2 separate regions of the Homo sapiens genome follow, and region 1 is linked to region 2. Evidence: promoter capture Hi-C in 16 types of primary human blood cells and fetal thymus (Javierre and others, 2016). All regions are on one chromosome and are shown on one strand. The core of a region is centred on a gene start or on the middle of the fragment in contact, and the rest is flanking DNA. Distances in the headings are between cores, read along the strand shown.

Evidence for each region. The method cuts DNA at HindIII sites, captures the fragments that hold promoters and counts their contacts. A CHiCAGO score of 5 or more calls a contact.
Region 1: a fragment that was not itself captured here is called in contact with the fragment with the promoter of ATR in region 2 in 1 of 17 cell types (total B cells); the score reaches 8.2 in total B cells.

Annotation. Positions count from the first base shown.
Region 1 is chr3:143,667,283-143,673,385 of GRCh38, forward strand. The region is part of intron 5 of SLC9A9 (solute carrier family 9 member A9); the gene reads right to left. Among named protein-coding and RNA genes, the nearest start is that of SLC9A9, 180 kb to the right of the region's middle. RefSeq lists an enhancer at 2,136-2,185. The HindIII fragment of the contact is 867 bases long and covers 2,508-3,374 here.
Region 2 is chr3:142,573,385-142,580,361 of GRCh38, forward strand. ATR (ATR checkpoint kinase) reads right to left here and starts at 5,349. Exons shown (of 47, transcript NM_001184.4): 1 at 5,262-5,349. The coding sequence starts at 5,320. RefSeq lists enhancers at 5,140-5,299, 5,600-5,699. The HindIII fragment of the contact is 1,226 bases long and covers 4,381-5,606 here.

The sequences.
Region 1 (6,103 bases), core at 1,691-4,190, 1.1 Mb after region 2:
GAAAGCTGAAACTGGATCCCTTCCTTACACCTTATACAAAAATTAATTCAAGATGGATTAAAGACTTAAATGTTAGACTTAAAACCATAAAAACCCTCGAAGAAAACCTAGGCAATACCATTCAGGACATAGGCATGGGCAAGGACTTCATGTCTAAAACACCAAAAGCAATGGCAACAAAAGCCAAAATTGACAAATGGGATCTAATTAAACTAAAGAGCTTTTGCACAGCAAAAGAAACTACCATCAGAGTGAGCAGGCAACCTACAGAATGGGAGAAAATTTTTGCAATCTACCCATCTGACAAAGGGCTAATATCCAGAATCTACAAAGAACTTAAACAAATTTACAAGAAAAAAATCAAACAACCCCATGAAAAAGTGGGTGAATGATATGAACAGACACTTCTCAAAAGAAGACATTTATGCAGCCAAAAGACACATGAAAAAATGTTCATCATCACTGGCCATCAGAGAAATGTAAATCAAAACCACAATGAGAGAACATCTCATGCCAGTTATTATGGCGATCATTAAAAAGTCAGCAAACAACAGATGCCGGAGAGGATGTGGAGAAATAGGAACACTCTTACACTGTTGGTGGGAGTGTAAACTAGTTCAACCATTGTGGAAGACAATGTAGCGATTCCTCAAGGATCTAGAACCAGAAATACCATTTGACCCAGCAATCCCATTACTGGGTATATACCCAAAGGATTATAAATCATGCTGCCATAAAGACACATGCACACGTATGTTTATTGTGGCACTATTCACAATCGCAGACTTGGAACCAACCCAAATGTCCATCAATGATAGACTAGATTAAGGAAATGTGGCACATATACACCATGGAATTCTATGGAGCCATAAAAAAGGATGAGTTCATGTCCTTTGTAGGGACATGGATGAAGCTGGAAACCATCATTCTCAGCAAACTATCACAAGGACAGAAAACCAAACACCGCATGCTCTCACTCGTAGGTGGGAACTAAACAATGAGAACACTTGGACACAGGGTGGGGAACATCACACCCTGGGGCCTGTCGTGGGGTGGGGGGAGGGGGGAGGGATAGCATTAGGAGATATACCTAATGTAAATGACGAGTTAATGGGTGCAGCACACCAACATGGCGCATGTATACATATTTAACAATCCTGCACGTTGTGCACATGTACTGGAACTTAAAGTATAATAACAAAAAAAGTAAAAATAAAAAAAGAAAGTAGCATTTTAAAAAACCACCTCCCAATAAATAGCCTATAAACACTTTCACTTCCTTTTTTGAATAGAACTTTTTGGCTAAAAAGTTGATTATCACTGGTATTAGTTTGTTCATCTGCGCATTTGTCAATGCTTTTGATAGTTTCTGGAAAGCAATAGGCAATTAATTCTGTTTACTGAATAAATGAATTAACAAGTGAATGAATCTCTGAAGGTCACCCACCATGTGGTTAGCTCCTCGAGGATCAGAACAGCTCCTTTTCTCCTGTATTCTGCCCTCGTAATCAGGAACTTCTTTGCCCACTCACTGACCTGACAGAACTTGTTTCAAAAAGCTTTCTCCATTTCAGTGCAAAATAATAAATTGAACAACACAATTCCTTGTCTGTAGCACCCAGACAAAAGGTCAATTCTTGTCCTTTCTTGGCCGCTTTTCAAGAAATCCTGCCCAAGAGGCACCTGTGAGTCTTTATGGAACAAGAGGACCAAATCCCAGTCTGAGACTAGTGGCTGCTCTCCCATCCTAGGTACCTTTCTCTTAAGAAAGCACTCCCTTTTAGGGTTGTACAACTGCTGATCCTGCATTTACATAATCCAGAGAGTGAGTGCCTTCTTAAATTTTACTCCCTAGTTGCCTCACTCTTCCATGGTTTTGACCTCATCAACTTGGCTGAGTCCTAAAAAGAACCAGACAGCAAGGAAATACTCTCTAAGAATTACTGAATCCAATTTGTCTCAATGTACAATGTCTTCTTTAACACATAAATGGAATGTGTGGGCTGGACACTGACTTTCAAAACTTCCATCCTATACGTCTTTGAGCATTACTGAGAATAAACTGCTTTCATTTAAACGGAGACATTCTGTTCCCCAAAGCAGTGAGCCAGAGAGGTCTGTCAACCACAGCTGTTTCCCAGCTGTCCATGGAGCTGTTGAACTGCTTCAAACGGTTTTCAGTATGTTCTCGAAATTTCATCTTCAGAACACCTGGAGCCTTGCTTGATCCACTTTCAACATCCTGAAGCATTTATATAGTTGGTTGTTATCTATTATTGTGTCCAATTCTGTTCTGGAGGTGACTTTCCATAACTAGCTTCCAACTTCTGAAGCAAGACCTTTGTGCCAAGACCTTGCTATTTACAACTCTGTACTAAAGTAGAAAACAGTGGTTGGAAACTTGACTGTGATGTCAAACCAACCTGTGTTCTGATCAGACCCCAGCTGTTATGCAAATGAACTTGGTGATCTTGAGCAGGCTACTTAACCTCATTAAGCTTCAAGTAAGCTTCCTTGGTAAAATGGGGATAAAATAATCCCTTCTTCAGGTTTTTGGAGAATAATTAATTGGAGTTATTTATGCAAAATGTTTGGCATATTGTAAGTGCTTCATCAGTGGTGGTTACTGTATTGTTATTGTTCATGCCATCAAAACTATTAGTGGGTCAGTCCAGTATAAAATGGAATGACAGTTTCTACTTGTTTTCCTTTAACACTTAAAAATAACTTCAAATGAGAAAAAGTAGATATTATCAAGCAGAGAAATGTTAAAAACTCTTCTCTATCTCTCTTCCTTTCTCACAAATTACTCCCTTGAACTTCTGTATTTGGAAAGAACAGTTCCTATTCTGTGTCCATTTACTTTGTCTTTCTGAGTCTTAGGGTCTTCATCTAAAAATGAGGATGTTGAGCAAGATTGTCTTTAAGGGCCTTCCACATCTAAATTTCTATGGGTCTCACTCCAAACTCCAAACTGTAGTCTCCAGATGTGGAATGTGTATATTTTCCAAATCATGCGGATGGAGCCCTGATGCAGTGCTGGGATCAAGGGTGTGCTTTGCAGGGTTACAGAGCAGCATGTGCAATGGGCAGAACAATGTCAAGAAAAGTGATCATGAGTTTAACACTTCTCTGCATGAATGAGGGGAGGGCTGTCATAATTTCAAATGCATATGCCCTTGTTTTGACTGTGACTCTAAGGGTTACCAAGACAGGACACTCCAAAGAGTATCTGAGCCCAGGGAGACCTTGCTAATGTTCTGCAGGTGACGTCGTCTGTGGCCCTGGAGAGAAACATGGCTCATGGTTCTTCCAGCTGAGCTGTTATCTTCTTCATCTGGGCAAAATATTGGCTTGAGGTACAGGAGACCTTAAGCTTTCTCAGAGCCTTCTCCCCACCAGGTGGTACTCTGTGTTTACAAAGCTGCCTGGATTACCTCTGTCTTGTCTTTTAGACTACTGCCAGTTGTCGTATCTACCTCCCTCTTTAGACTGGGAGCATGCTGAGAGCAGAACCTGTGTCTGGTTTATTATCCCTTCCCTCAGTAGCTCCTACAGTGCCTATGACATAGCAGGCAATGAACAAATGTTTGTTAAATAAAATCAATTATAAAGTGGGAACTTGACTCTTGACTCTTGGATTTCATTTTCTTCCAAAGCTTGATTGGCACATCACTGTTCTATTTTGAGAAACAGCAATGGTGTAGGACAAAGAATATTGGACCTGATTTGTCTCCCATCTCTGCCACTTACGAGCCTTGTAAATGTACCACTTAAGTTTTTAGAACCTCTGTTGCTTGGAATGGAGATAATTGATCGGCTGTGGTGATGATCAAATTAGATGATATATTTGTACACATTTAGTTAATGGCTGCTATCACTAGATAACATACTCTCTAGTAGACGTATTCAGATGGAGCTTTTAATTTGCTGCCAATCCGTGGCTTTGGGTTGCTTCTACATATTGATTCAAGTACAGCCATTGCTTCAATAATTTTAAGCTGGCTGCAAGTTAGCAAAAGTCAGTTTTTTTTTCAGATAGATGTTAGTGTTTAGTATCTAGCAAAAACACAGTCTAGAAATCTAAGGAAACAGAATTCCTAGCTTCCATACCTATATTTCATTAACTTGCCGTGAAACCTTGAGATAATCTTAAAATTTGCTGCACCTCAATTATTTCACCTAAGAAATGGGTCTTCTCTACCCAAGAACACAATGTGAAAATAACTGAAATACTGTCTGTAGAAGCTCTTTGAGCTCTTTGAAAGAGTCAAACAATATAAATCAAAGCTGTTATTTTTATTTCTGAGTAAATTTGCTCAAGAATAGAATTGAGGTTTATATGATGGAGTTTTACAGACATAGGTTTATGTAGAGGGTTTTAAACTGATGCTATTCCATTGTGCTTAACACTGAATTGTAAAGACACAGAAAATACAGCCAAGTACTGTTAAATGACACTGTGTGCAGGTTTGAAATGCAGATTGCATAGTAAAAATGGCTGATACGTCTGTGCTCTCTAGAAGCCTGCTGGCTTCAGTGGGAGGTACTCTGGTCTAACATCCTCTGACTCCCTCTGAGGTGTAATTTCTCCCCCCTTGGAATTCAATGAAAACATATGAATATCTCTTACTGCTTCTGTTCTCTCACAGCAATACCAATGCAATCTTTCTCTACCAAATATTAGATGCTAAAAGTAGAGTCATCCAACTTTCTTTATAGATGACAGAGCAAATAATTCAGGAACACAAACTTTATACTATATGAGAGCATTTTTTGCTGTTTATAATATGGCATAAAACCATCTTGATCTCTTCCTGCTTAGCCGATATTAAATGAATGTTGTCTTTGTTCTCTAAGCCAGCCCTGGTACTGAAGGAACTACTTTGTCAATTACATCTTAAATTTTTTTTTTGTCTGTGAATAGAAAATTATTCCGTTTTCTCTTGAATTCTTGTGTAGAATATTGATAACACCAGTGATGAGAAACCACAAGTGTAATATAGGCTAAAACTAAATGCAGAGGCAGAGAGGGCCAGAAGGTGAAAAAGAACAATATCCATGATTTTAAAAAGATGTGATCCAAACAAAAGAAATCAATGAAGAACACAATTAAATATTGAAACACAACAGTGATTAGAGAGCATGATCAGAGAAACTGAAGGAAAACAAAACTGAAAAATAAAAACTTTTCTGATTATGCCAATGTGAGTAATCTTTCTCCGGTGTTAGAAAAATTAAATATTTAAACCTGGAGTTCCACGATGAATGAAAAATATGAGAGACAGCCCAATTAAGTCATCCTTACTGAAGAGGCTTTTCTCCAAAAATAACAGTCCTGCTTTTAATTATAGGTTCTTGGGTCTGTTAATCAGCCATCTTCCTCAAGGCTAAGCTTGGTGCAAATAACAGAGAAGGATTCAGCAAAATGCCCTGTTTAATTAAAATGAATTTAATTAAAAATATTTTTATACACATGACCAATCACCATTATTTATGCAGATGTTCCCACATAAGTCTTTGAAAAGGCATTTCTCCCCCCAACCTTTAAAAAATATGCTGTGCTTCTACAAGAACTGCTATGAAATGAAAAGCACTATGACTGGTAGTTAATACCTATTTTTATCAAAACAGCAGTGCAGCTCACACATCACCTGAGCAGCCGTAACCATAGTAACCCCAAATAGAAAGGGGCTTCAGATTATCAACACCATCAAAGGTAAGATAGTTCATGTGCCTCTGCAATAGTTACACTACAGCAAACTTTAAAGGATAAAGGTGGCTTTTATTCCTACTACTTAAATGTTAAATGAAAATAATGACTTGCAAGTACAGTGTATAGAAATGCCTTTCATTTTGGAAGACTCTTATTTCCTCAAAGTGTTAATAATAGAAAAGATGAAAACTCAATGCTATACATTTCTCCAGTGCTTCTATCTGATTATGGCGAGGGGACAGTAATCATCATTTTGCCAAGTTGGAGAATTCATACAGGGAAAACCCCACCCATAGGAGCCCTGCAGGATGAGAAGCTGGACGAGAAGGCATATTCTGTGTCCATGCACTCAGTGAGAGGATGGCTATGGTTAGTGATGATTGTCGA
Region 2 (6,977 bases), core at 4,099-6,598:
TGGAGGTTGCAGTGAGCCAAGATCGCACCACTGCACTCCAGCCTGGATGACAGAGTGAGACTTCATCTCAAAAAAAAAAAAAAAAAAAAGCAAGTTTGTATATGCTACTAAATAAAGTCCTTAAAAAAAAAAAAGAATCAAAGAACAAGTAGTTACATTTGCATATGAAAGCAAAACAACTTAGTGCTATGTATCTTATTTAAATCAGCGCTGGCCAATAGAAATATAACGTAAGCCATAATTTTGTTATTTTCTGGTAGCCACATTAAGAAAAGAAACAGGAAAAAAACAATTGATCCTAACAATATATCTGAAATATTAGGTGAATGTGTAATCGATATAAAAATTATTCATGAGATCTTTTACATTCTTTTTTCTGGTACTAAGTCTTTGAAACCCACTGTGTATCTTATATTTACAGCACATCTCAATTTAGACTAGCCGCATGTGAGGTGGTCAATGGTCACATTTGGCTAGTGGCTACCATAGTATAGGGCATCACAAATTTAACAAAAAATTCAAAATCTGTAATTACAAGGTAACATGAATTGTTTTAGACAAAGTCAGGAGACATTATGATAAACCACAGTAATTTCACAAGTATCATTTAAAAATGTGAACAAAGAGGAACATGGGAAGAGGAGCCAGGATTGTGGGTAGTGGTCAGAGTTTCTTACAAAGTTTCATTTTGTAAAGATTATGTACTCATGTATTATTTGTGTAATTTTTAAAAATCAGTTTTAGAAAAATGTAAATTGATTACCATTCATTAGATCTACTATCAGAAGAAAGAAACTTGGCCGGGCGTGGTGGCTCATGTCTGTAATCCCAGCACTTTGGGAGGCTGAGGTGGGCGGATCACTTGAGCCCAGGAGTTTGAGACCAGCCTGGGCAACATGGTGAAACCCCGTCTACAAAAATACAAAAATTAGCCAGGCATGGTGGCACACACCTGTAGTCCCAGCTACTTGGGAGGCTGAGGTGGGAGGATCGCTTGACCCCAGGAGGCAGAGGTTGCAGTGAGACATGTTCATGCTATTGAACTCCAGCCTGAGCAACAGGTGAGCCAGTCTCAAAAAAAAAAAAAAAAAAAGAAAAAAGAAAGAAAACTCACAGGAGTGAGCACTTCTTATTTTGTGACTTCTACCCTGGAACTGAGCTAAGAGGGTATAACTTTTCAAAAGCATACTATAAAATTTGAGTATTAATGTAAGTATTATATAAAGCTTAGGCACCTCCTCTGAGGTAAGCATCAAATACCAGGATAACCAAGACAGAATGCACCTGCCCTAAAATAATTTGCAGATTAAAGGACAAACAAGAGGTAATTATGGTTAAGAACTGACAGGCCCAAGAAAGAACACAAAGGGACACTCAGCCCTGAGCAGGGCCCTGTCAGTCATGGCTTCCTTAACGAGGTGATACAAAACTGACTCCCTAAGGGACAAGGCAGTGAAATAAGGGTAAGAGGGAGGGTAGTCCAAGCACTGGAAACTGTAAGAGGCTCTATGTGGCTAAAGCCTTTAGAGATGCAGCTGAAGAGGGAAGATAAGGTTAAATTTCAAAGGACTGGCTAAGTAGTTTGGATTTTACACTGAAGGCAATGTGTAAGCACTGAAGGATTTTAAGGAAGTAAAAATTAAGCAAGTTTTAAAAAACTTGCTTATTTCCCTGTTTAAAAGATTCCAATGGTTTCCCATCACACAATAAAATCTCACTCCTTTTTCTAGCCTCCAAGGTGCTGAAGGATGTGGCCCTTGCCTACCCCTCCCTGTTTAACTCATACCACTCCCCTCTTTACTCCCTGTGCTCCAGCCTTCTTACTATCCTTTTAAAAGTAGGCTCATTCAGCCTTGGCATGGTGGCTGAGGTGGGTGCATCACTTGAGGTCAGGAGTTGGAGACAACCTGTGCAACATGGTAAAACCCCATCTTCACTAACAATATAAAAATTAGCTCGGTGGTGCAAGCCTGTAGTCCCAGCTACAGGAAAGGGAGGCTGAGACAGGAAAATCGCTTGAACCCGGGAGGCAGAGGTTGCAGTGAGCAGAGATCACGCCACTGGAGAGGGCGAGACTCCGTCTCAAAAAAAAAAAAAAAAAAGCAGGCTCATTCCCACTTATGGGCCTTTGTACTTCCTATTCCATCCCAGATTCACGTGACTAGCTTCTTTACACCATCAAATCTCCTCTAGTGGCTAATGCTGCTGCTCCTCAGAACCTCCTCCACATCCCACTGTTCCATTTAACATTTTAATAGCAACTATCACATTTGAAAATGTCTTACAACTACAAAGCAATCTCAAGTAGGAAAATCAGAGAAGGTGATTCTGAAATGACATCTAAATGAAACCATCCAGTGTTCAGATAGAAGGAACAGCAAACGATTAAAGGCAGGAACAGCCTTGGTATCCTGGAGAAACAAGGTCAGTATCACTAGAGTAAAGTAAGCAAAAGAGGGATAAAAGGTGATGAAGTCAGAGGCAGGCTGAGCCAGATTATGTAGAACCTTAGAGGCCTTGGTAAGGAGTTTGGATTTTATACTGATTTTAAGTGTGCTGGAATGTCAAAGGACGGTTTTGTGCAGGGGAACTTACAATATGACTAATAGATGAAAAATCACTTTACTGAGTGGAAAATCTATTATAAGTAGGTAAAAGTAGAAATGGAAAGATCAACTAAGGTTACTGTAATAGTTCAGGTAAGAAATTCTGGTGGTAGCAGTGGAGACAGTGAGAAGTGTTAGATTCTAGATGTATCTTAAACATATGGTTGTCAGAACTAACTTATGGATTATTAAGCGACAAGGGAAAAAAACCAAGGATGACTCCTAGGCTTTTGGTTGGCATATTTACGATAACACAGGAGAAGGAACAAATTCAAGGGCGCAGTAAATCAGGCGTTCTGCTTTGGATATGTTAATTTTCACTTCCCAGTGTGGATGTTGAGTAAGCAACCTAATATATATCTCCGATCTAGAAATATAAATTTGGGAGTTATCAGCATATGGATGACATTTAAAGCCATGAGATTAGGTAAGATTACTTGGGAAGACAGCACAGATTAAAAGAGGGCCAAGGACATAGACTGAAAGCACATGTGAAAATAGTTAAGAATGACTTCTAGATTTCCAGTTTGGAGAACTAAGTGAATATGGTGCCATGTACTGAGATATCTCTACTTCAATGAATAAGAGAAAAATAATTTTTTTAATTTAAAAAAAGAAAGCTTGTGAAAGCTAGGACATGTGGGGAATTTGTATTGGATATTCTGAACCTTAACTACACATAGGACACTCAGTGAAACTACCAGTATACAGTAAATATACAATTCTATAGAAGACATGATTTGGAGAAACATATTAGTAGTCATCAAATAGCAGATTATAGTTGAAGGCAGGAGAGTGGAAAGGTCATTTAGCAAGATTATGCAGAGCAGACTGCTAATAGCAAAAAAACAATAGGACAAAATTTATCTGAGGGACTGAGGAAGAGCAGCCCATAAATTAGAACACTAATATCTTTTTTTTTCAGTAGTCTAATTGCCATAGTCAATTAAGAGGAAACATTTTGGAAGAAAAGGCCTTGAAAGCTTGAATCTGAAACCTAGCTCTGTTATCTGCTAGCTGTGCCTTTGGTTCTTCAACTTCTCTGTCCCTTTTTCTTAAACAGTGGTAACACTTGTTTCATTCTATGTCATGGATATACTATGAAAATTGATTAGCTTTTTTGATTCAAGTAGTTGTAATGAAAAAGCCATGACAATTAAAAACTATTAGACAACTCTCTGTGGGTCAGTTTTTCTATTCTTTCTCTTGGAATAGCTACAAATAAATGAAAGGTAACATAAACTCTACTGATGAAACCGACTATATATAATCCAAGAACCAATTATTTTTATTAACAGGACTCACGGAGGAAGACAGAAGAGGGAAGAGAAGTATTAACCAGTTAATTCTACTTTAAAGCAAAGTGGCAAAAATATACTCAGCTTCACAATGAGCCTGAAAGATGAAATTTGTAAACCAACTTCCTACAATGATCACTTTTCTTCCTCTTCTTTTAGAGAGGTAGAGGTTATTTTATAAACTAAACACAAAGTATACTTGCCACAGATAAGTGGAAAAAATTCACACACTCAAAAATAGTGATGCAGTTACGACAAGAATGGTCCCTTCATTTATCCTTTTATTCATATATTGAGACTAGATTATTTGGATGGCCAACCAGTGGAAATGAACACAACTGCGCTGCAAAAAGAAAGAGAAGTAGCTATCCCATTGGCTTAATGTCAGCTTTGACTTTGTGTGGAAAGTTTTCAAACAGTTTAAGAAATTGGGAAGCAGTTATTCCAAATGATAATTTAACTGCGGTAGCAGCACAAGCTTATTTATTTCTTGTTCGCAGTAGTGTAGAATTAAAACAAACAAAGCAAAACAAGCTCTACCGAGTCTTTAGGCCTGGTTCAGGGAAGCCTGCCTGTGTATTGAAGAGGTGTGAGAGCCATCAACACCTCTCCCTCCTTGTGGTAAGATACTGGTTTTCATGAGGTTTACAGACAACATGCATTTGCAAATGAAATATTAAATTGTCTCCAAATTTTGGCAACACTCTGTGCACGCTGAGATTTTGTGGACCCAGGGGTCTATCTCTCCAATTTCTGACTAAAATAACGGATCGGGAACTGGACGATCAATACGAGGGAGGTCACATCTTCAGTATGTACTATGACTTCACTTCAAAGAAAAAAACTGCCTTTTCCAGCAAGTGATGTCACTTGCAGAAAATGAGAAGCGGTGATTTTCTTTCAAGGGCAGTTTGGGGACAAAATGTAAGGCTAAAAACCAATTCCTCCACGAGTGATCACAAAGAACAGAAACTGATGGGTCAAGTCCCTCGTCTAAGGAAAAAGATTTTCGAGAAGAAAATGAGTGTAGAAAAGTGACCAGAAAGCGATCAGCAGGGACTCTTCCTCCAGCTGCAGGAAGCAAACTCTCGATCGGGGTGAGTGGTAAACCAGGGCCGGCAGACGCCTCTCTCCCCCACGGACCGGCTTCCCGCAGGTTTGTGGCGACTGCCCCATGTGCTATCAACGGGCACTCTGAGGGAGAAGCGCCCAAATCAGCCACGGAGCATCTCCACAAGGGCCGCAGCGGGGGCTTAGGGGATCCCAGCCATAGCGCAGCAGGGGAGGGGAGAGCACGTGAAACCCAAGCCGGAATCAGCGGAGGAGGATGCAGGACCCAGGCTGGGCCTAGCCCTACCTGCCCAGCTCCCGCAGGGCGGGGATCATGGAAGCCAGCTCCAGGCCATGTTCCCCCATGCTGAGGCTGCGAGGCACTAGTCAACCACGCCAACGCGGGTTCCCGGCGTCTCCAAAGCTACCGCTGCCGGAAGAGCGCGGCGCCCGACGGAGCCGTGTGGAGGCCAAAACTCCTCCCGGAAGCCGCTACTGGCCCCGCTTGCCAGGCCCAGCGTCTTTTCTGCATAGGACCCGGGGGAAGCCGGGAAGCCGTTAGGGGGCGGGGCAAGCGGGCGGGCGTGCGTCGGTCAAGTTTCCCGGGTCGCGTCAGGCTTCTTTCTCAGCACCGAGCGAGCGACGTTCGTGAAGCTTTCGTTTTGAGCGGCCAGACTCTGCTGTTCTCAAGCCTGGGAGGCACAGAGAAGCAAGACTTCCGCATCGGGGGAGGATAGGGCTTGAGGGCCGCCAGCCCAGACTCGCTTCACAAATGTGAGAACTATGACAGTCCAGCGAGTAAAGGCCAAGAGTAAACTCCAGGTTTCCCCAGAGTAACGCTCTCACATTTTAAAAGTTCCTCACGTTCCCACCGCTCTTGTCCCTCTTTCTGAGAGATACAGGCCAAAAGGTGGGCTCTCCCTGTTTTTTTCCTTTTAAGCATTTTTTTTCAACTTGAAGTCACTGTTAGGTTTCGTTGAGGACCCTACCAACTTTTAATATTTGAAAATGGGGTTGGAATATATTTGTGTCTCATCAAATCAGCAACAGTACTGTGTGTGGAAATGCCACCATTACGGGCATCCGCAACCTGTGATTTAATTTTTAAAGTAAATCAATGGATTTTGGCAATACACATTTTCTAGCTCAACTCAATTTATTGGAAAGATGACCACCATAAGAGATTGTTGACATGTCAAAGTTATGTAGTTAATCACTCAAAGTCATGCAGTATGTTTACATTTGTTCTTTGGTACATGAGGATAGTTAACCGATACAGTATCTTAAAGAAAAAAGTGATGGAATGACAGCCAAATATGCTCTTGCCTCAAGAACTTTGCATTTGCTGTACTCTCTGCCTTGAACACCACTCTGTCATTGCCCTTTTTCCTTCAGGTGTTTGCCAAATTAACACCAAAGAGCCTCATATAGACTAACATATATACACATTCTGTCTCACCCTCTTTTTTTTGTTAGATACATTGTCTTACTCTGTTGTTCAGGTTCTAGTGCAATGAATGTTGCAATCATAGCTCACTGCAGCCTCAATCTCCCAGGCTCAAGCGATCCTCTCACCTCAGCCTGGGCTCAATTGATCCTCCTGCCTCAGCCTCCTGAGTAGCTGGGACTACAGACATGCCACCACGCCTGGCTAATTATTTTTTGTAGAGACAAGGTCTTGCTATGTTGCCCAGGCTGGTCTCAAACTCTTGGCCTCACACGCTCCTCCCACCTCAGCCTTCCAAAGTACTAGAATTAGAGGTGAGAGCCACCACACCCGGACATACTATATTATTGTCTCTCTCCAGTTAGAGTGTAAGCTCTTGGAGAGCAAGGTCTTGTCTATTTTGTTCACTCTCAGATACCCAGGACCTAAAACTGTGCCTGGCACATAGGTGGTGTTCAGTAAACATTTGTTGAATGAATCACTGAATGTTTTAGGAGAAAGGACATGGGATTGGGAGTTACAGGCCCTACACAAGTTCTCATTCCATCTGCTAGAAACTATATGACCTCAGTAAAG